Linked DNA regions of Homo sapiens: regions 1, 2, 3, 4, 5 and 6 are each linked to region 7. The links are contacts of gene promoters, found by promoter capture Hi-C in blood cells and fetal thymus (Javierre and others, 2016). All regions are on one chromosome and are shown on one strand. Each heading gives the region's core, a stretch centred on a gene start or on the middle of the fragment in contact. The rest is flanking DNA. Distances are from core to core; before and after follow the strand shown.

Region 1 (2,700 bases), core at 186-2,685, 740 kb after region 7:
GCCTTCACCTATACTCTGGCTGTTATAAGACAAATTTTATGTTTTTAAAGGAATGCTCACATTCTTCACTTCTCATGACTTTATGCTGAGAACAACTGTTATTTTATTATGCCAGAATAGCGGAGTACCCGAAAAAGAAAACTGATCTTGGAATGAGGTCAGAGAGAAAGCCTCTTCTGAGGGGAGATGGGTAGCACTAATAGGAAAGACAGCGGTTGAAAAGATGGCCAAGAAATAAGCTAGATGCATTCAGAAAGAGGTGAAAGTCACAGAACTGTGTGTGAATGAAGAGGGATGGGCAGATAAGAGCTTGGATCCCTACAGATTTTTTTGTATGTTTCTATCATATTTATGTGTGTGTGTGTGTCCAGTGGAGTTAACAGAAGATACAAGTTCCTTGGGGTCAGGATCCATGTAGCAGAGCTTTTACATAAAGGGTAACTGACCCACGGGTGTGTGCAATGATGGCATGATCTTATGCATCTACTGAAGAGGCAGGATGTTCTCTCATGGTATAGCATCATATTTCTCCCCAGAGACACTCTATTTGTAATGTGTGAGCCAAAGAAACAACTTAGGATTAGCTTCAATGTGCTCTAACCCATACAAATACAGTTTAATTAAAAAACTACGGTTTCTCTACCTCTGGAAAAGTCTTGGTGGTAGAGCAAAATATTTATTGGGTATTTGATTTTTGTAGAAGCCTCGAGTCTTTATTCTTTATGATCACTATTATATTATCTTGTCCAAAGTCTACACTGCATTGATAGTTTCAATTATATTAATATTGTTTTATTGAACTATAGCTTCAAAACCTAATTTTAAAAAAATGTCTGTCTCATTAAATGACCAATACTGTAGTCCATTGTATTCAACCATAACGTCCACATTTACACTTTCTAAGGAGTACATTGATGGATGACAAGTCTCTTGGTGTGCTGCAGGCTCCATACAAACATCAAGTCTTAGATTTACTACTGCTATTTAATATGAAGTCTTTTAGAATTAGGATTTTAATTCAGAAAGCCCAGCAAATGAAATATATGTAAGCAACCTTTGAATATCTGTAGCAGAAGTTGTATCCACATCAGAAAGTGGTAGCACTTGATTCCTGTTAGTGTCCATTCTGATTTCAAAATCTGAAAGGAAAGAATTGATATTAATTTTTCAAACATTCCTCCAAGTGACTTTCTTTTTCTTTTCTTTTCCTTTTTTTTTTTTTTTTTGAGATGTGGTCTCGCTCTGTCATCCAGGCTGGAGTGCAGTAGTGTGATCTCAGCTCACTGCAGCAACTTCCCAGGTTCAAGCAATCCTTTTACCCCACCCTGTTGAGTAGCTGGGACTACAGGGGCATGCCATCACGCCCATCTAAGTTTTGTATTTTTTTGGTAGAGACAGGATTTTACCATTTGGTCAGGCTGGTCTTGAACTCCTGAGCTCCAGTGATCCACCTGCCTCGGCCTCTCCACATGCTAGGATTACAGGCGTGTGCCACCGTGACCAGCCCCAAGTGATTTTCTGTTTCAAAATGTTTAATAGTACTACCAATAATGATAATAGCAGTAGCTAAAATATATTGAGAGCTAACCATGTGTCAGATACTAGTCTTGGGATTTTAGACACATAAAAATGTGTAGAATTTCATTTATTGGTCACAAGAATTTTATGAGGCAAGAATCAGGCCAGTTCCAGAGGCAATGCTGCACTACACTAAACTGCTGCCACAAATACCTATTTTTTTGGTCAGAAAAAAAGGAAAATAAATACAATAAAATGAAAGGAAATCATATAATGTCCCATACCAATATGATAATTGTGTGGCAAGTGCACATCCTTTGAGAAGTGTCCTTCACCTCCCAGAAGGCTGCTCAGCACCTCTGCCACCTTTGCATTTGTATGTGACGATGGCAGCTCCCGCGGCAGCTGTGGGAGTGACAAGGCTATGTCCCTCAGATAGACAGTATCATCAAGTTTTAGACAAGTATCCAAAGTATGCAGCTTGTAAGCATTCTTCATGTCATCTAAAAGATGAAAAAGAGAGTATATCATTAAGAAGAAATAAATGCAACATTAAAAAACTATATTAGTATATATTTAGTAATAGTTATAAAATAATAAATATATACATAAATGCACTTGTATTTCTAATTATCTCTTTCTTATCACAAGGACTCTCTCTTTGTCTCCCTGGTTTCCACAGGGTCTAAATCAAAGCCCTGCACTTGATAATGTTTTAAGGCTTCAAATATCTTTAGAGGTCATTTAGTCTAAACTCCTCAATTTATGGATAAGGAAATGCCCAGGAAAGTTAAAAAGCCTCGTAATTAAGGCAAAGTTGGAACTAGAATCCAGGTTTCCAAGGTTCAAGGCTGTTTCTCCATTATTACACTGCCTGAAAAACCAGCACGTGGTATTATTGACTGACTCTCTACAACTCAACTTTGGGATTTTATAACATTTATTTATTTATGTTTTAATTCTGAACTACTCTATTCTCAGACACATCGTCAAATTTTGTACATCTACCTGAATATTGCTTTGCCTTATTTAATACTAAAGACTAAAAGTCAACAGTTAATTTGGTTCCAAGAGTAAATGAACTAATTAATTTGGTGGCTATTTGGTTTCTTGATCTAACAGGTGTTCCCTCATCACAGGCCAGGAGTGACCAAGTGTTTACAGCTGCAAAAATTGACTTAG
Region 2 (2,700 bases), core at 97-2,596, 730 kb before region 7:
CTCTTCAGTCTGTCTATTGTAACCCTTGCTCTGTAGAAACTTCTCAGTTTTATGTAATCCCATTTGTCTATTTGGCTTTTGTAGCCTGTGCTTTTGGGGTCATATCTAAAAAATCACTACTCAGACCAATGTCATGGAGCTTTTCCCTCTCGTTTTTTACAGTTTCAGGGGGTACACATAACGTCTTCAATTTATTTGAGTTGATTATTATATATGGTATGAGATAAGCCTCTAATTTCATTCTCCTGCATATGGATATCCCATTTACCCATTACTACTTATTGAAGAGAATATCCTTTCCCTATAGTGTATTCTTGTCCCCTTATTGAACAATTGACTGTAAATGGGTAAATTTACTTCTGGACTCTTTATTCTTTTTTTCACTTTTTATTTTTTTTTAAAAATGAGCATCCTATTAACTGATAGACTCTTTATTCTGTTCAGTTGGTTTGTCTGTTTCTCTGCCAGTACCATGCTGTTCTGATTACTGTAGCTTTGTAGTGTATTTTGAGATCAAGCAGTATGATGCTTCTAGCTTTGTTCTTTTTGCTCAAGAATTCTTTAGCTATTCAGCCTCTTTTGTCATTCCATAGGAATTTTAGACTTTTTTTTCTAGCTGTGCGAAAAAGTCATTGGAATTTTTATAGGGATTGCATTGAATCTGTGGATCACTTTGGACATTTTAACAATATTAATTCTTTCAACCCATAAACATGAGATGTCTTTTTATTTATTTCTGTCTTCTTCAGTTTCTTTCATCAATGTTTTATAGGTTTCAGTGTGCGGGTCTTTTACTTCTGTTAAATTTCTTTCTTTTTTTTTTTTTTTTTTTTGAGATGGAGTCTCACTGTGTCACCCGGGCTGGAGTGCAGTGGGGCCATCTCGGCTCACTGCAACCTCCGCCTCCCAGGTTCAAGCAATTCTCCTGCCTCAGCCTCCTGAGTAGCTGGGATTACAGGTGCCCACCACTACGCCCAGCTAATTTTTTTGTATTTTTAGTAGAGACGGGGTTTCACCATGTTGGCCAGGCTGGTCTCAAACCCCTGACCTCGTGCTTCGCCTGCCTTGGCCTCCCAAAGTGCTGGGATTACAGGTGTGAGCCACCACACCTGGCCCGTATTTATTTCTAAGTATTTTAATATATTTTTGTAGCTATTGCAAATAGGATTGTTTTATTGATTTCTCTTTCAGATAGTTCACTGTTAATATTTGGAAACAGTACTCATTTTTGTATACTGATTTTATATCCTACAACATTACTAAATTTGTTTATTCTAATAGTTTTTTGGTGCAGTCTTTAGGGTTTTTTATGTATAAGATCATGTAACCTGCCAGGTGTGGTGGCTCACGCCTGTAATCCCAGCACTTTGGGAGGCAGAGGTGGGCAGATCATGAGGTCAGGAGTTCGAGACCAGCCTGGCCAACATGCTGAAACCCCATCTCTACTAAAAATAGAAAAATTAGCCAGGCATGGTGGCGCATGCCTGTAGTCCCAGCTACTCAGGAGGCTGAGGCAGGAGAATTTCTTGAACCCAGGAGGCAGAGGTTGCAGTGAGCCGAGATCTCACTGCTGCACTCCAGCCTGGGTGACAGAGTAACACTCTGTCTCCAAAAAAAACAAAAAAATCATGTCATCTGCAAACAGGTACAATTTAATTTCTTCCTTTTCAATTTGGATGCCTTTTATTTCATTCTTTTGCCTAATTGCCCTGACTAGGACTTCTAGTACTATGTTAAATAGAAGTGGCAAGAGTGCATGTCTTGGTCGTGTTCCTGACCTTAGAGGAAAAGCTCTTTTTTACTGTTGAAATGATGTTAACTGTTGGTTTGTCATATATAACCTTTATTGTGTTGAGGCATATTCTTGCTATACCTAATTTGTTGAGAGCACTTCCTTACTTTTTGACCCAGCAGGCTCATCTTGAACTTTCCCTGCCCCGGGCCTAGAATCAATCAGCTCTCAAAGGAGCACCAATTCCTTTTAGTAGGGATGCAGACATGTTTGTAAAAATTATGAAACTAAGTTCCAGCTAGGATGCAATAAAATTAGCACTCTCTTACACTGCATGTGAAAATATAAATTGGTATATTCCCCCCTAGAAAATGATTTGGTGGATTTAACAAGCACCTTAAATATATTTATACTTCATGATCTAATAATTCCCATTCTAGCAATGTAGCCCAAAGAATTGATCTGTGTTTTAAAAAAGGAAGATAAAGACATTTGTCACAGCCATTTAAACATTAAAGAAACAAAAAGGAAACATCCAATACAAACCAACACAAATGACATGAAAGCAATATAATCAAATCCATTCTAACCAACACAACCAACATGGAAGTAATACAAATAATTTTTTAAAATATGTAGACATCAATAGTATGTTGACTAAGACTTTTAAAAGCATTTTTCCGCCAGGCGTGGTGGCTCACGCCAGTAATCCCAACACTTGGGGATGCCAAGGCGGGCAGATCACTTGAGGTCAGGAGTTCAAGACCAGCCTGGCCAATATGGTGAAACCCCATCTCTGCTAAAAATACAAAAATTAGCCAGGCGTGGTGGCCCGCGCCTGTAATCCCAGCTGCTCAGGAGACTGAGGCAGGAGAATCACTTGAACCGTAGAGGTGGAGGTTGCAGTAAGCCAAGATCGTGCCACTGCACTCCAGCCTGGGTGACAGAGCCAGACTCCGTATCAAAAA
Region 3 (2,700 bases), core at 52-2,551, 760 kb after region 7:
TAGAACATGAACATTCTTGCATGGTTCCATTGCCTCTAAAACAGTTGACAAAACTGAAAGGCATATCTCATCACACTCATTGATACGTTCCTATTGAAATATAATTACAAAAACACTACAGGTGATGAGCCCATAGTAAACTATCTTACCCAAGCAAAACCACTGAACTGATGTACTGAATAAAACGATTGAGTATCAAACCAACAATTCCTACAGTCAGTCCACAATAAACAGCATCTTTGGGAAATAAAAAGTCATACTTACTGAATTTTCCAGCTGACTGATACACATCCTTTTATGCATCAACACTTTTTTACCTTCACCATTATCACTGAAAACACATTTGATATTTATTATATTCCACTGCTTCTGAAACAACTTTTATTAAACATTATTTTTACCTCTTCTTGGAATTCAAGGTCATTACAAAGGCAAAAACAGTTAAAGTGCAGGAATATAAGAACTACTGAAGTACAGAAGGTAACTAGCCCATCTCTAAAGATCCTTAAATGGTTGTGCCTTTACAATTTCCCTAGATCCTTTCCTGGGTATCAAGCTGAAACTTTACTTGTGAGTCTTCTGATTCACATCTCCTGCCACATTCTACCACTGCTATCTGGGTCTCAAGGGAAGCCTACACCCCACAGATTCTTCTTTCAGGTCCCTTTACTTAGGGTACTAAGTTTGATTCCAGAAATAGTGGGCATAATCTGGAAAGTGAATAGTAACAACACAGCTTAACTAGCAGTACTCTACAGTTTAATCACTAGTCTATAAACCTCACAAAAAATCACATCTGAGGAAACTTAGCCTGAAGAGAGAGAAGCTCTTTTGCTAAAATTACATAACCAATGAATCACAAAGTCTTAAGTCAGAACCAGGTAATAATAAGAAATGGTTATGGTTAGAAGAAAAAAAAGGTTTCTTTCCTATGAAAGGGTTTCCTTAACAATTTTACAGCATTCCATCCATATCTACTATGAAAGAAAAGACCACTTGTCTATGTGTTTGAAGGGCAAATTCATTGATGGCACACTGTCCTTTCACCTCTAAAATGTCTTTACATTATTCCAACAGGTCAGTGAGACACCATCATCCATACAGATGTTTTGACTACAAAAATCTACTACTCATACCTCACCAACACAGATGTCATCCCGATGCAAATATCTGTCCAAAATCTAGTAAGAGCATCACTGACCAGGTAAGGTGATTTATTAGTCACTTTTAAATAACTACATAGGAACTAATACACAGCCTACAAATAAACAGGGATATTCTGTGGTTTAAACAAATACACACACATACACTAAATAAAAATTAGTTATTCCTTAAGGACATATGGAAATCACAGTAATGTAAAAAGTTAAAAACTTTCCCATAGCTATGAACCCAATTATTGAATTCTATAGCAAGACAGGATATATGCCAGATTATCCCCAAGGAATTCCTGTCTTTTAAAAAATTATTATTATTATTTTCAGACAGGGTCTGGCTCTGTCACCCAGGCTGGAGTGCAGTGGCACGATCATGGCTCACGGCAGCTTCGACCTCCCAGGCTCAAGTGATATTCCCACCTCAGCCTCCCAAGTAGCTGGGACCACAGGCAAGTACATCACACCCAGCTAATTTTTGTATTTTTTGTAGAGATGGAGTCTCCCTTTGTTGCCCAGGCTGGTCGCAAACTCCTGGGCTCAAGAGATCCTCCTGCCTTGGCCTCCCAAAGTGCTGGGATTACAGGTGTGAGCCACCACACCTGGCTAAGAAATTACTTCATTATCACTGAGTTTATACGTCAGAAGTGTACACTCTTAAAACATAAATGATTAACAAGCTAATCCTTCCTTCCTTACATTTGGCACCATTTCAGTGACATTAAACAGGACACTGACATTCTTGCTTTAGACTAAAAATGGCTCCCTCCATCCAATTTTAACCTTCTTCCAATACATCTTCCACTCATTCAGTGATCTAAAATACAAATTTGAGCACGTCAACCCATTGCTTAAAATTCTTCAACGGATTCCCATTGCCTACAGGATAAATGCATACTCCTTAGCTAGCCGTAAGAGGCTCTTTATGATTTGGTTCCTATTTTTCTGGCCTCTTGTTCTGCCCCTAAGCCTCTTGCCCCTCACTCCTCTCCTTTGATCGCCATGTACAAAACTTGTTCCCACCCACTCAAACATACAACTCCATCATTCTGTGCTTCAGCTACACCAAACTACTTTCAGCTCTTCAAATTTGCCAAACTTTTCCTCTGGGAACAGTAGGGCATGCAATCCTCTCTACTTGAAACACCATCCCCTTCACTATCATTCTGCTCATCAGTTTAGGTATCATCTACTGGGCCTGAATTCCAATTCTACCATGGACTAAATTCTCTTCCTTCCCCTTCCCTTCTCTCCTTCTTCAACTACCCAGGCTTTCTTTGTATATCTTGCATCTCTCCTCACTTTAGCTTCTTCACCACTACTCAACCCTGGGGATGGTAAATGTGGAAGGCTTTCATAAATTTCCATAGCAAAAGGAAGAAAATAGCTAACTTAAGGCCTCTAAATCATATAATATATATGCAGAAATAAATATAAAGGAAACTACCATTCCATTTGATAGTCTCTTTTAAGAAGGCTACATATCTATATCCCTTCATTCTTTCAAAATATTCTAAATCAAGTAAATGCATGTTTAAATCTCCTT
Region 4 (2,700 bases), core at 27-2,526, 780 kb before region 7:
AAAATATTATAAGAAAGAAGTTTGCATAGTTAATACTGCCAGAGACAATAATTCTGATGATAAAACAAACAGCCTACAAAGAAATAAACATTTCAATTACGGCTCACAGATAAGATTTTCTAGGTCAATATCATTCTTTCATTATATCTGTACCTTAAGGATTTTGCATATAAATGAAATCTGAATATCTTCCACTAAGAAGTCCCCTGCAATTGACTGAAATGAAATTTTAACACGTAAAATGGGGACAGACAAGCACAGTTTGGGGCTTTTGTTTTTGTTTTTTTTCTCTGAGACGAAGTCTTGCTCTGTTGCCTAGGTTGGAGTGCAGTGGCGCGATCTCAGCTCACTGCAACCTCCGCCTCTTGAGTTCAAGCAATCCTCCTGTCTCAGCCTCTGAGTAGTTGGGATTACAGGCCAGCGCCACCACGCCTGGCTAATTTTTGTATTATTAGTAGAGACGGGGTTTTACCATGTTGGCCAGGCTGGTCTCAACCTTCTGAGCTTGTGATCCTCCCGCCTCAGCCTCCCAAAGTGCTGGGATTACAGGCGTGAGCCACTGCACCCAGCCGGGGCTCTTGGTTTTATAAGAAATTTAATCACAAGTCAAAATAGACTGTATTTCCTAAGTAACCTTAGTATTTTTTTACTTTCTAAGGAAAAAGAAAAAGACCTCCCTTTTTAAGAGGAATGATGCATATGCTTATCAAGTCACTGAAGATAATAAAAGTGAAAAATTAAAATTAAAAATTTCATTGCCTTACAGCAACCTCTCCATGGCTTGTTTCTCCCCATTCTCCTCCCTCAGGAGCTCCAGGTTGTTATGATGCCAGCCCAAAGGTGTGAAAGGCAGCTCTTTGGATTTTTCCTCTACTCGGCGATTAAATAAGGATTCTAAGTACAATATAAAATAAGAAGTTATTACTTCATTGTCCTGTTTTATACCATCTACTCATATATTTAGAAATTGCCCTTTGTCTTTATAAATGTTTTAAGTTAGCCAACATAAATTATTGGTGTAAAAAGGCAAGAACATGTAATAAACATATAAATAAAATGCATAAGAAAATACTTACAAATACATAAAATACACTAAAAATACAGAAATGCAAGAATTAAGAAGAGCAGTAATTGGCAACAGCCAAAATCAGAAACAGAACTGTGAAAATCAAATGTACGTAACTAAGACTCTCAAGCCAATAATTATAAGCACAGCTTCTGAAAAGCAAATAAAATGAAACTTTTGCTTCTCCTTTTAATTTTTAAAAACGAGGGTGTTAATTTCCCCTTTAAAATCACAAACTGGGCCGCGCGTGGTAGCTCACGCCTGTAATTCCAACACTTTGGGAGGCCGAGGTGGGCAGATCACCTGAGGTCAGGAGTTCGAGACCAGCCTGGCCAACATGGCGAAACTCCATCTCTGCTAAAAACACAAAAATTAGCTGGGCGTGTTGGCACACGCCTGTAATCCCAGCTACAAGGGAGGCTGAGGCAGGAGAATCACTTGAACCTAGGAGGCAGAGATTGCAGTGAGCCAAGATCGCACCACTGCACTCCAACCTGAGTGACAGAGCGAGACTCCATCTCAAAAAAAAAAAAAAAAAAATCACAAACTGAAAACTGCATTCAACAGAAATCTGAATGCTGGCAAAAGAACACATGATAGCGAGAGTGATGAATTTTCAAGAAAGAAGCTCAGCTCAGATATCACAAAACAACAGATGACAGTGTAGAAAGTCTATTCAGACAATCCTCAATAGTGTTTCTCTTTCAATATTGGCACAGGGGTTTTTTAACAAAATTTTAGCAAGACAGACTCAAAAACATAAATATTAAAACATAATAAATAGCATTTATGTAGAATTTGTGTAAAATCTTTAAATTTTTTAAAGGATGAATGAAAATAGATAAGACAAAAAATAAATAATAAATGCTTAACAAAAAAATATGTTCACTAAATAACTGTTGAATAATCTGACCAAATAAGTGGAAAGAAAAGAAGTGGGAAATGCTTACAAAAATTCTCTAACCTGTCCCCTCTTAAAAGCAAAACAAACAAACAAAAAAACTTCCACCAAACAGCCCAGCAGATTACACAGTAAAGTATATGTCCATGACATGTGAAGTACAAGAATTGCACATTTCAATTACATAAAGGGCCACTCTGTAAACTTCTAGCCGAACCAGATGCTTGGAGATGAATTTAGAAGCACTGCCAAGCTATCAGATAAGCTGCAGTGGCTCCTTGTACCCGCTTGCCTTCTCTCTTTGATCTGAAACCGTGGGAGCCAAGAAGGAAGAGAAATTTTCTCCCATTATCTGAGGCCTAACCAGTGGAGTACTATGGACTAAGAATGTCTTTACTCTAGGAAGCTAAGCTAAGCTAAGTAGGGAAGGAATAGGAGAAGGCTAATCTCCTTTTGTGTCCAAAAGAAATTTATCATCAGAGTTAGTTCTTTAACCTCTACTGCCTGCTTCTCTTCCTCACTCCACAGGGCAAGCAGCATCCTTAACTGGAGATCTGCCTGTGGGCTTTTTGACAAATTTGACAATCCTTGATGATATTTATATCAATACTTAATATTATATTCACAATACAGTTAAGTGTAAACTATGTCTTTAAAAGAATTAAGTTCAAATTCTACTTAAAAGTTTTTAAACAATTACTTTTCACATCAGAGACCTCCTTCTCGCAAACCA
Region 5 (2,700 bases), core at 22-2,521, 540 kb after region 7:
ATAAGTTAGGTGACAGAAAAAGGACACTGAAAGTTTGGTAGACTTTCCTAGTGCCCAAAACAATAATATTACATATAATGGGATAAAGACTCTTTAATTAGGTTAACAATTGACTTGGCAATAACAGCATAGAAGAGCCCTGACTTGACAATTAGTTATTAAAAATCTAAGAATTTTAGTTGACCATGAGCTGGTTGTGGCATGACTTCGCTTTAAATAAAAGATTTGCCATCTCATGCTGCATTTACAAGTACAGTATCCAGATCAGATCAGAGTAGGGAGCAGGCAATGTGGGAGAAGGTGGCTCCTTCTGTGCTCTGTGCTTGTTAGATCAAAGGTGTGTTCAGCCCTAGGTGTCATATTAAAGGCCTCAGAAATCTGAACTCAGAAGTAGAGGAATGCATATTTATTTAGCAACTACTAATTACTAGATACTACAGAGAGATTTTAAAACACAGTCCCCAGGTTAGATGAGTTGTCTAGAAATTCAATTTTATGAAAACTGAAACTGAGAATGTTTTTCTGAGAGGAGAGAAGACCTCTAGAAGGAACAGGATAGCTGTGTTCAGATATATGATGTTGTCATGTGGACAACACTGAGCTACAATTGAGCTACAATTCAAGACTAAGACTGGTCCATGCTGTTCAAGAAGGTAAAAGAAGCACACCAAATGTCTAATAGAGAGAAGCTAAGGCAGATTTATGCTGAATAAGAAGGAGTTTGCTAGCAATTAGACATGTTCTGTGTGATGAAACTGGTTTGTTACCAAGTGATGAGTCTATGCTGCCTCTGGAAGTGTCCAAGAAGAGAAGGGAGGTTAACAACCACCATACTAGGTTGCTATATGCCAGTTTACATGATACGTGCTTTATATCTCAAATCCTCACAATAATCTGGCAAGGCAGAAAAAAATACTGCTCCTATTTTACAAATGAGGGACTTGAGGTCTAGAGGGGTTACATCACTTGCTTAGTATCTCATTACTTGTAAGTGGCACAGCCTGAATTCAAACCCATGTCTGTGTAGTTTCAAAGTAGGGATATAGCCAAGTGAATTCCTGCCTTAGAAGGTGTATTAGTCTGTTCTTATGCTGCTAATAAAGACATACCCGAGACTGGGTAATTTATAAAGGAAAAGAGGCTTAATGACTCATAGTTCTATGTGGCTGGGGAGGCCTCACAATGGTGGTAGAAGGTGAGGAGGGGCAAAGTCACGTCTTACATGGTGGCAGGAAAGAGAGTGTGGCAGGGGAACTGCCCTTTATACAACCATCACATCTCGTGAGACTTATTCACTATCATGAGAACAGCACGGGAAAGACCCACCTCCATGATTAAATTACCTCCCACTAGGTCCCTCCCACCACACGTGGGAATTATGGGAGCTACAATTCAAGATGAGATTTGGGTGGGGACCCACAGCCAAACCATATCAGAAGGAGGTTGGAGAAGACAAATATTAAGGTTTAGTATACTAATTTTACTACTTTACTGAGCCTCAGTTTCTGCCCAGTAGTCCATGATCTCTGTATGGGTACAGAGTACCCATAATTCTAAGTATCTTTTTGGAAGAACAAACAAGATATTCTCCTTTTATGATATCAGAGTAAAAGAAAATAGATATATCAGTAAGGATCTGCTAAACTGCAGTAATAAACAATCCCTAAATCTCAGTGGCTTAACCCAATACCTTCTGCAGGGATCGGCAGGGGAGTCTTCCTACCATAGTCAGGGAGCCTGGCTGACGCAGGCTTTATCTCACCATGTGCTTACCTGATCACAGCAGCTGCAGACAGAAAGCATCACAAACTATGCACTGGCTCTTAACACTTCTGCCTGGAAGTCATGTACAACCCTTCCACTCACATTTCTTTGTACAACACCTGGTCACACCTAACTTCAAAGAAGTTGAAGAAGTACAATCATATCACGAGACCAGAGGTAGAAAGTCATACAGATTTGAGACTACACAAGTGATTTCCACAATCACATTTTGATAACAGTCAATATTGAGTTGATATTTAAATTATAACTATGATCATTAAGAATTTTTGAAGGAAATAGTGATGGAAAGATAGTGTGGAATGCATGCCCTGAAAATGTGGGGAATAATAAATTAGATCTCATGATACCAAATCTTCAGAAGACGAGTCACATTAATGGTTTCCATTCTGTGTCGTGGAATGTCCCAGACACTTTTATAATGGGTAAGGGGTTGGGCTCCAGGCTCCTTTCCTTTTCTGTCCTCAGCTTTGTTCATCTGCTTTATTTGGTGTGTGGGGTGCATGTTTGTGTGTGTGTGTGTGTGTTTTTGATGAATTTTTGTTTCTCAGCACCCATTCCTCTCTTCTAACAGCTCCCAAATTTCCATGTGAAGAATTACACCCTTCATATTGTATAAAGCCTCAAGATGTCCTGACTATAAGCCACACAGGCTATTGGTTTCTACGAGAAGCTCTCACCACCTAGGTACAGCCAAACATGTGACCCCAGCTTAATCAGACTCTCTCCCCTTAGAGTTTGACCCTCACACCAGCAACTACAATGGCAAAAGAAAAGGTAAAAGTTCGTTGCCACTTTGGTTGTGCAGTATTAAATTATTTTTCAAAATATGGCTTTATGTTTGATCCCCAATCTAAGGAATCAAGCATTTGCCTGATGGTCAAATATCTGAATCCAGATAGTTCCTATTGACTATTT
Region 6 (2,745 bases), core at 83-2,582, 820 kb after region 7:
AAATTTTCCAAGGTGAAAAATAAACTGGGTCCAAGCTATGAAACACATCAGGCATTCAGCATATCTAAAGTTATTGATTTCTCACTGCATGAAAGAAAAATCACTTCACGTAAAATGATTTCTGAAATTTATCATATCAGACCTAAGAGAAGTTATGTTATATATATGACATTTCTACTGAAGGCTGACATTTAAAAATATTTTTCCTCCTGCCTAAAAAGTTATATAGGGCAGTGGTTTTCAAATTGGGCTTCACAAAATATATGTGAATGTAGGGTAGGGCAAAAAAGAGTTAGCCAGGTGGGAAGAGGAGTTGCAAGCAAGGTGGGACGATTCAAAGACCACATCCTCAGCAGGAACAACTCCATCCTTCTCTATTTTCCATACCGTGTTTGCTTGTATGTGTGTGTGTGTGTGTGTGTCTGTGTGTGTGTAAGCTGGGGTCTCACTCTGTCACCCAGGCTGGAGTGCAGTGGAGGGATCTCAGCTCACTGCAACCTCTGCCTCCCAGGCTGAAGCCATCCTTCCACCTCAACCTCCCGAGTAGCTGGGACCACAGGCGTGAGCCACCACACCCTGCCAATTTTTTGTATTTTTAGTAGAGACAGGGTTTCGCCATGTTGCCCGGGCTGGTCTTGAACTCCTGAGCTCAACTGATCTGCCCACAGTGGCCTCCCAAAGTGCTGGGATTACAGGCATCAGCCACCGCGCCTGGCCTTATACTGTGTTTCTGTATTAGGTTCCTTTGAAGAAGAAATTTTTGGTTTTAAAAACAGTTTTATGTAGATTACTGCTCTAGATAAAGAAACTCACTTATAACTATTATTTATTATTCCAGGAACAAACAAAAAGCTAAAAATTTACCCCCAATTATGCATTTTCCTGGAGAATTTCTCCCATTAGAGAAAGTTAGCAGCAATTGTTCACATGTCCCAGTCACGAATGCCTGAGTATGTTCCGTAGCGTAATTTGTGGATGCACAGTTTTCAACTTTTTGTTATCTCTGGCATCAGAAACAGTGAATATAAATAACACTCATGGGAAATATTAACAATACACAAAATCAGTGGTTGAAAAATGTTACCTAGAAAAGATATCCAAACAAAAATTTAAAAACAGAAAATCCCAAACACTGAGATAAAGCATAACATGAGCTCCAAATAGGAAGATCGGGGACACATCGCTGTATAAATCTTGTGGTGAGATTAATGGACACCACTATTATCTGGTTTGGTGTAATATAGAACTCTCAGCAGGAGATGAAATCGGCCTGTGTTCAGAATGCCTGGCTGAGGTGACAGGTTTTAACGATAAAAGAGTTTACAGCCTTCACCACCTGCAGCCAGGTTTTTATTTAAGTCACATTCTGAAACTTGTTCCTCTGTTCCTTAGACTCTCCTCTTAAAAGCAATATCAGAGAACAAATAAAAATTTTTATTATACTTGCTAGATTTCTTATCTGAGGTTGATTTACGAAGTAGAGAGAAACCCAGGGTTTTATGGTTTCACAGGCTGAAGCGTTTTAAATGCCAGGAGCTCTTGGCGCTCTTGATATCCCCACCTCTCAGATGGTGCAAGTGGCTGTTTATTAATTTTGTCTGTCATCCTCTCTCTGCAAGAAGCTATGGGGTTAGCTCTATTACATTCTTGTTTCTATTCATTGCCTTGTAAAAATTTTAGGAGAAGGTGGTTAAAAAATATTCAGTATAAGAAATAAACCATTATTTTTTGTAAGCAGCTGTAGTTTTATTAAGTGCCTTCTCTAGATAATAATACTGATGGAACCAAGATTGTTAACAGTGGTATTACTGAGTTGCAGAATTCTCAGACTCTTTAGCCTAAAGATCTTTACAGAAGAGTAACTGCTCTTTTATGAAGATCACTGTTTTGTATTTAACTACGGCAATTGCTTTTCAACACACCATATTGCTTCTGAAGCTGGGCTGCAGACAAGAAAAACTATATTTGAACAGGAAAGGTAAATTTATTCAATCCACTTAATGAAGAGTATAAAAATGTTTTCCCCAACTTTTTACCACAGTGTCATAACTTTCTTGGAAAGCGTATTTTTCGTTTCTCACTTCCCTTTTTAACTTCTTTCTATAAAACAACATCCTAGAAACTGTACTGGTAATAATGTTACAACTATGCTTTACTAACAGATGCACCTTTCCAAAATCAAATGAATCGCTAGAATAGTAACGCCTGAAGTATACACAAGGAATATATGTCCAAATAGTAGTCATATTTCATTCCCCTTAAAAGAAAATAGCGACCATAAAAAGTCTTAATTATAAAACACCAAATGACATTTGCTTTATTTGAAGCCTTTTGTTCCCATCAGAAAATAAGGCTCAATTCTTCATTTGCTTCCTACAGTGGACTTGATTGACAGCTCCCTGATTCAGCAGGTCCTACTGCGTCCAAGTTTCTGGGAAGCTCGCAAGCACTCCCTTTCTGTGCAGCAACTTTCTCAGGCACTCCAAGAGCTGTTTCAGAAGGCCAGGGAGGAAAACCCAGGACAAGTGCATCCCAGAGCTCCGGAACTCACTCTGAGCCTTCTCACGACAATGTACAACAGGTGAGGGTGTGGACGTCGCGCTGTGACCTCAAAGGCAAAGTTTAGTTTCCAGTGGTCATTTACCATTTGGTGCTGGCTAATATTTGCTTGAGGTTTGGTATATAAGAAGTCTTCTTTGTTTGTTTTTCACAAATTTATTCCTCAGGAGTAGAACAAAGGAGTAA
Region 7 (2,700 bases), core at 172-2,671:
TACTGCATGAGACAAATAATGGATACTTTAATGTCTATTTTTAGTAGTAGTATTAAATCAATCTCTCATTAAAGTTCACACAGAAATTCGTGGGAAATATGGTAGGGGGAGTGGGACGGAGGGTGAGGGGAGATCCAGATGACCCAAACGCGGTTGGCAAGGTTGCACCCCGCGAAATGATGTAAAACAAGAGTACATCGGCTGATACTCGTTCCAACGAAGTGTTTCAGAATGATAGATCTCAAGTGATGATTACCTTATTAAAAAGGGTTAAAACCGAAACTGTTTTCAAACACCAGCTTCCCTTTTATAAGATCCCAACAGTTTAAAAAGTTATTATAAATGTTTTTCTTAGCACCCTTTCTCCCAAAAAGCATGCATTTCCATGACTGACTTTAAAAAAAAAAAAAAAGCAAAGGGGTGAGGGAGTCAAAAATTCCCCCCAAAAGCACAAGCTCTCATCTCTCAACTAAGCAACACAGGGCAGAAAGCAGCATTTCCTCAACGGTGTAGGAGCGGGGGGGAAAGGGCACGAATAAAATACAGCACGAGAGGAAACCTTGGGTTTCGAACTTTATTGCACAAAGAGTGGAGAGAAGAGTAGGTCAGACGTTGCAGCTCTTCCCCTTGCGAAGCGGGCATGGCAGGCACCGAAGCCACCGGGAAGGCAGCAGGCACCTTCACCTCCTCTGCCCTCAACTGTCGCCTTCTTCCTCCTCCATCCCCCACCGGCACCTAGGCGGCGGCTGCCCCGGAGGCCCGGCCGGGTCGGGCCGGGGGCGAGGCGGGCGGCGGGGGCCGGACGAGCGAGCGGCGCGGGGGGCAGCGCCGGGCCGAGCGGGCGGCCTCCCCCGGGGCGGCTCCGGGTTCCCGGCTCCGCGCCCGGCCCGGCGGCGGCGGCGGGAACGCGGGCGCCAGCTCGCCGCGGCCGGCCGCCCGCACACACCCCCGGCCGCCGGCTCCCACCCCGCCCGCCGCCCGCCGCCCGCCGCCCCCCGCCATGAGCGCCGCCGCTGGCTGCAGGCAGAGTCGCTGCCGCCCCGGCCGCCGCTGGCTCCAGTCCGCCGCCATTATTCTTTGTTCGCTGCGAGCGGCGGCGATGTTGTGGGGCTCGGGCGGAGGCTCCATCTTTACCGCGGCCCCTCCTGCGAGGGGAAGGCCCCAAGCGCGGGTGTCCGGCGCCTCCCCGTCCCCCCTCCGTCCCCCCGGCTCTCTCTGGCTCCTGCCTCCTCCTCCTGCTCCTCTTACCGGTGGTACAAGCTCCTCCGTCACTGCTTTCGTTCACGGCCCGGATCTCGCTGGAGTTTTATTCTCTCCCCCACGTAACACACCGCGTCAAACTACACCTCCGCCGCGTCACTCACCAACACTCCGCTTCTCCCAGCCGCCCGGGCCACAGGCAGCAGCAGCCGCCGCCGACTGAGGAGCCGCAGCCAGGGAGCCAGCCAGCGCCGCCCAGTGCCGAGTGCGCAGCGGCCGCGCACGGAAACAGCCGAGCTAGGCCCGGAGCAGCTCGAGCGGCCCCGCCCCCGCGCTGGGGACGGAACTTGCCGAAGACCTTCGGGTTTCTTCGGGCGACGAGAAGGGGTTCCGCGGGGAGAGGGAAGGCGAAGGCGGGCTGAGCCCGGCGCCGGGAGGAGTGGTCTAAACTCCACCGCGGCTTTCGCATCGGTAAAGCCGGCAGCGGAAATTTGAAGGAGGAAGCGGGGTTTGTGTGTGGCCCAGTGGGGGAATTCCCGAGGGGTGTCGGCGACTTGGTGGAAACCCCCGCTCAGGCCTGCCCCTGCGGCGGTGAGCGGCGGGCTAGAAGGCGGCTGCGGCTGCCCTGGCTCTGCTCTTGACCGCCGCCAGCCCCGGGAACTTTCCGACGCCGCCGGGAGACGGGGGACGGGCAGCCCGGGCTGGGACGCGGCCGGACCGCTGGAGCCGTGCGGGCTGGGGAAGAAGGTCTGCTGCGCCTCTGCCAACGTCCCGGGGCCTGGGACCCGGGGGCGTCGTGGGACCCCCGTGGGGACGGGTTTTCCTTTCCGAGACTCCGCGGAGAAACCTGGCGGCCGCCAGCGGAGCATGCTTTTCCGGGGGGCGCTGGCCCCGATACTGTGGCACCTTGCGGGGCTCTGCCCGGACCATGGCTGACGTCGACGGCCCTCGGAGGCCTCCAAGCCACACAACCTGCCCGGACCCCTGGAAATATGCCCCATCCTACCTCCCCGCCTTTCTCCAGACAACATCCTGTGTCGCTTTCTTTCCTCAGCCTGTTTTCTACAGCAGGGATTCGCACCCACTGCACCCTAAACCCAGCAGGGGGACTTCCGTGGCTGGAAACTACTGAATTGTTCTTTCAGAGGTCTCTCAGGACGGCACCACTAGGTCCCCATTCTCCTTGATAGTGAACTCTGCAGCCCTCTCCTTGGGGTTTCAAGTCTTTTTTTTTTTTTTTTTTTTTTTAATGAGACGGAGTCTAGCCCTTGTCGCCCAGGCTGGAGTGCAGTGGCACGATCTCGGCTCACTGCAACCTCCGCCTCCCGGTTTCGAGCGATTCTCCTGCCTCAGCCTCCCTAGTAGCTGGGATTACAGGCACCTGCCACCACACCTGGCTAATTTTTGTGTTGTTAGTAGAGACGGGGTTTCACCATGTTGGCCAGGCTGGTATGGAACTCCTGACCTCAGGTAATCCACCCGCCTCGGCCTCCTAAAGTG

The links. Contacts are between HindIII fragments. The CHiCAGO score rates a contact against its expected background, and 5 or more counts as called.
Region 1: a contact is called between a fragment that was not itself captured here and the fragment with the promoter of CREB1 in region 7, in 14 of 17 cell types (naive CD4 T cells, monocytes, naive CD8 T cells and 11 more). The highest score is 16.5, in naive CD4 T cells.
Region 2: a contact is called between a fragment that was not itself captured here and the fragment with the promoter of CREB1 in region 7, in 1 of 17 cell types (total CD8 T cells). The highest score is 5.5, in total CD8 T cells.
Region 3: a fragment that was not itself captured here is called in contact with the fragment with the promoter of CREB1 in region 7 in 11 of 17 cell types (fetal thymus, naive CD8 T cells, total CD8 T cells and 8 more); the score reaches 19.0 in fetal thymus.
Region 4: a fragment that was not itself captured here is called in contact with the fragment with the promoter of CREB1 in region 7 in 1 of 17 cell types (total B cells); the score reaches 8.6 in total B cells.
Region 5: a contact is called between a fragment that was not itself captured here and the fragment with the promoter of CREB1 in region 7, in 4 of 17 cell types (fetal thymus, M2 macrophages, megakaryocytes and 1 more). The highest score is 9.1, in fetal thymus.
Region 6: a fragment that was not itself captured here is called in contact with the fragment with the promoter of CREB1 in region 7 in 1 of 17 cell types (monocytes); the score reaches 6.8 in monocytes.

What each region holds. Positions count from the first base shown.
Region 1 is chr2:206,787,258-206,789,957 of GRCh38, reverse strand. FASTKD2 (FAST kinase domains 2) reads right to left here. Exons shown (of 12, transcript NM_001136193.2): 9 at 1,803-2,021; 10 at 1,055-1,139. Among named protein-coding and RNA genes, the nearest start is that of MIR3130-1, 5.3 kb to the right of the region's middle. The HindIII fragment of the contact is 5,023 bases long and covers 1-2,700 here.
Region 2 is chr2:208,260,097-208,262,796 of GRCh38, reverse strand. No RefSeq gene overlaps it. Among named protein-coding and RNA genes, the nearest start is that of PIKFYVE, 4.8 kb to the left of the region's middle. The HindIII fragment of the contact is 6,247 bases long and covers 1-2,700 here.
Region 3 is chr2:206,767,481-206,770,180 of GRCh38, reverse strand. It overlaps FASTKD2 (FAST kinase domains 2), which reads right to left. Exons shown (of 12, transcript NM_001136193.2): 3 at 1-90. Among named protein-coding and RNA genes, the nearest start is that of FASTKD2, 3.2 kb to the right of the region's middle. RefSeq lists an enhancer at 1-482. The HindIII fragment of the contact is 2,931 bases long and covers 1-2,700 here.
Region 4 is chr2:208,312,488-208,315,187 of GRCh38, reverse strand. PIKFYVE (phosphoinositide kinase, FYVE-type zinc finger containing) reads right to left here. Exons shown (of 42, transcript NM_015040.4): 14 at 765-894. Among named protein-coding and RNA genes, the nearest start is that of PIKFYVE, 48 kb to the right of the region's middle. The HindIII fragment of the contact is 3,644 bases long and covers 1-2,700 here.
Region 5 is chr2:206,984,994-206,987,693 of GRCh38, reverse strand. No RefSeq gene overlaps it. Among named protein-coding and RNA genes, the nearest start is that of CPO, 47 kb to the right of the region's middle. The HindIII fragment of the contact is 3,782 bases long and covers 1-2,700 here.
Region 6 is chr2:206,707,138-206,709,882 of GRCh38, reverse strand. It overlaps DYTN (dystrotelin), which reads left to right. Exons shown (of 12, transcript NM_001093730.1): 3 at 2,380-2,581. Among named protein-coding and RNA genes, the nearest start is that of DYTN, 9.9 kb to the left of the region's middle. The HindIII fragment of the contact is 4,270 bases long and covers 1-2,745 here.
Region 7 is chr2:207,528,683-207,531,382 of GRCh38, reverse strand. It overlaps CREB1 (cAMP responsive element binding protein 1), which reads right to left and starts at 1,421. Exons shown (of 8, transcript NM_004379.5): 1 at 1,249-1,421. LOC124907970 (a long non-coding RNA gene) reads left to right here and starts at 1,786. Exons shown (of 3, transcript XR_007088060.1): 1 at 1,786-1,947. RefSeq lists silencers at 113-282, 993-1,042, 1,073-1,202, 1,873-2,052 and enhancers at 1,293-1,392, 1,653-1,852. The HindIII fragment of the contact is 5,804 bases long and covers 1-2,700 here.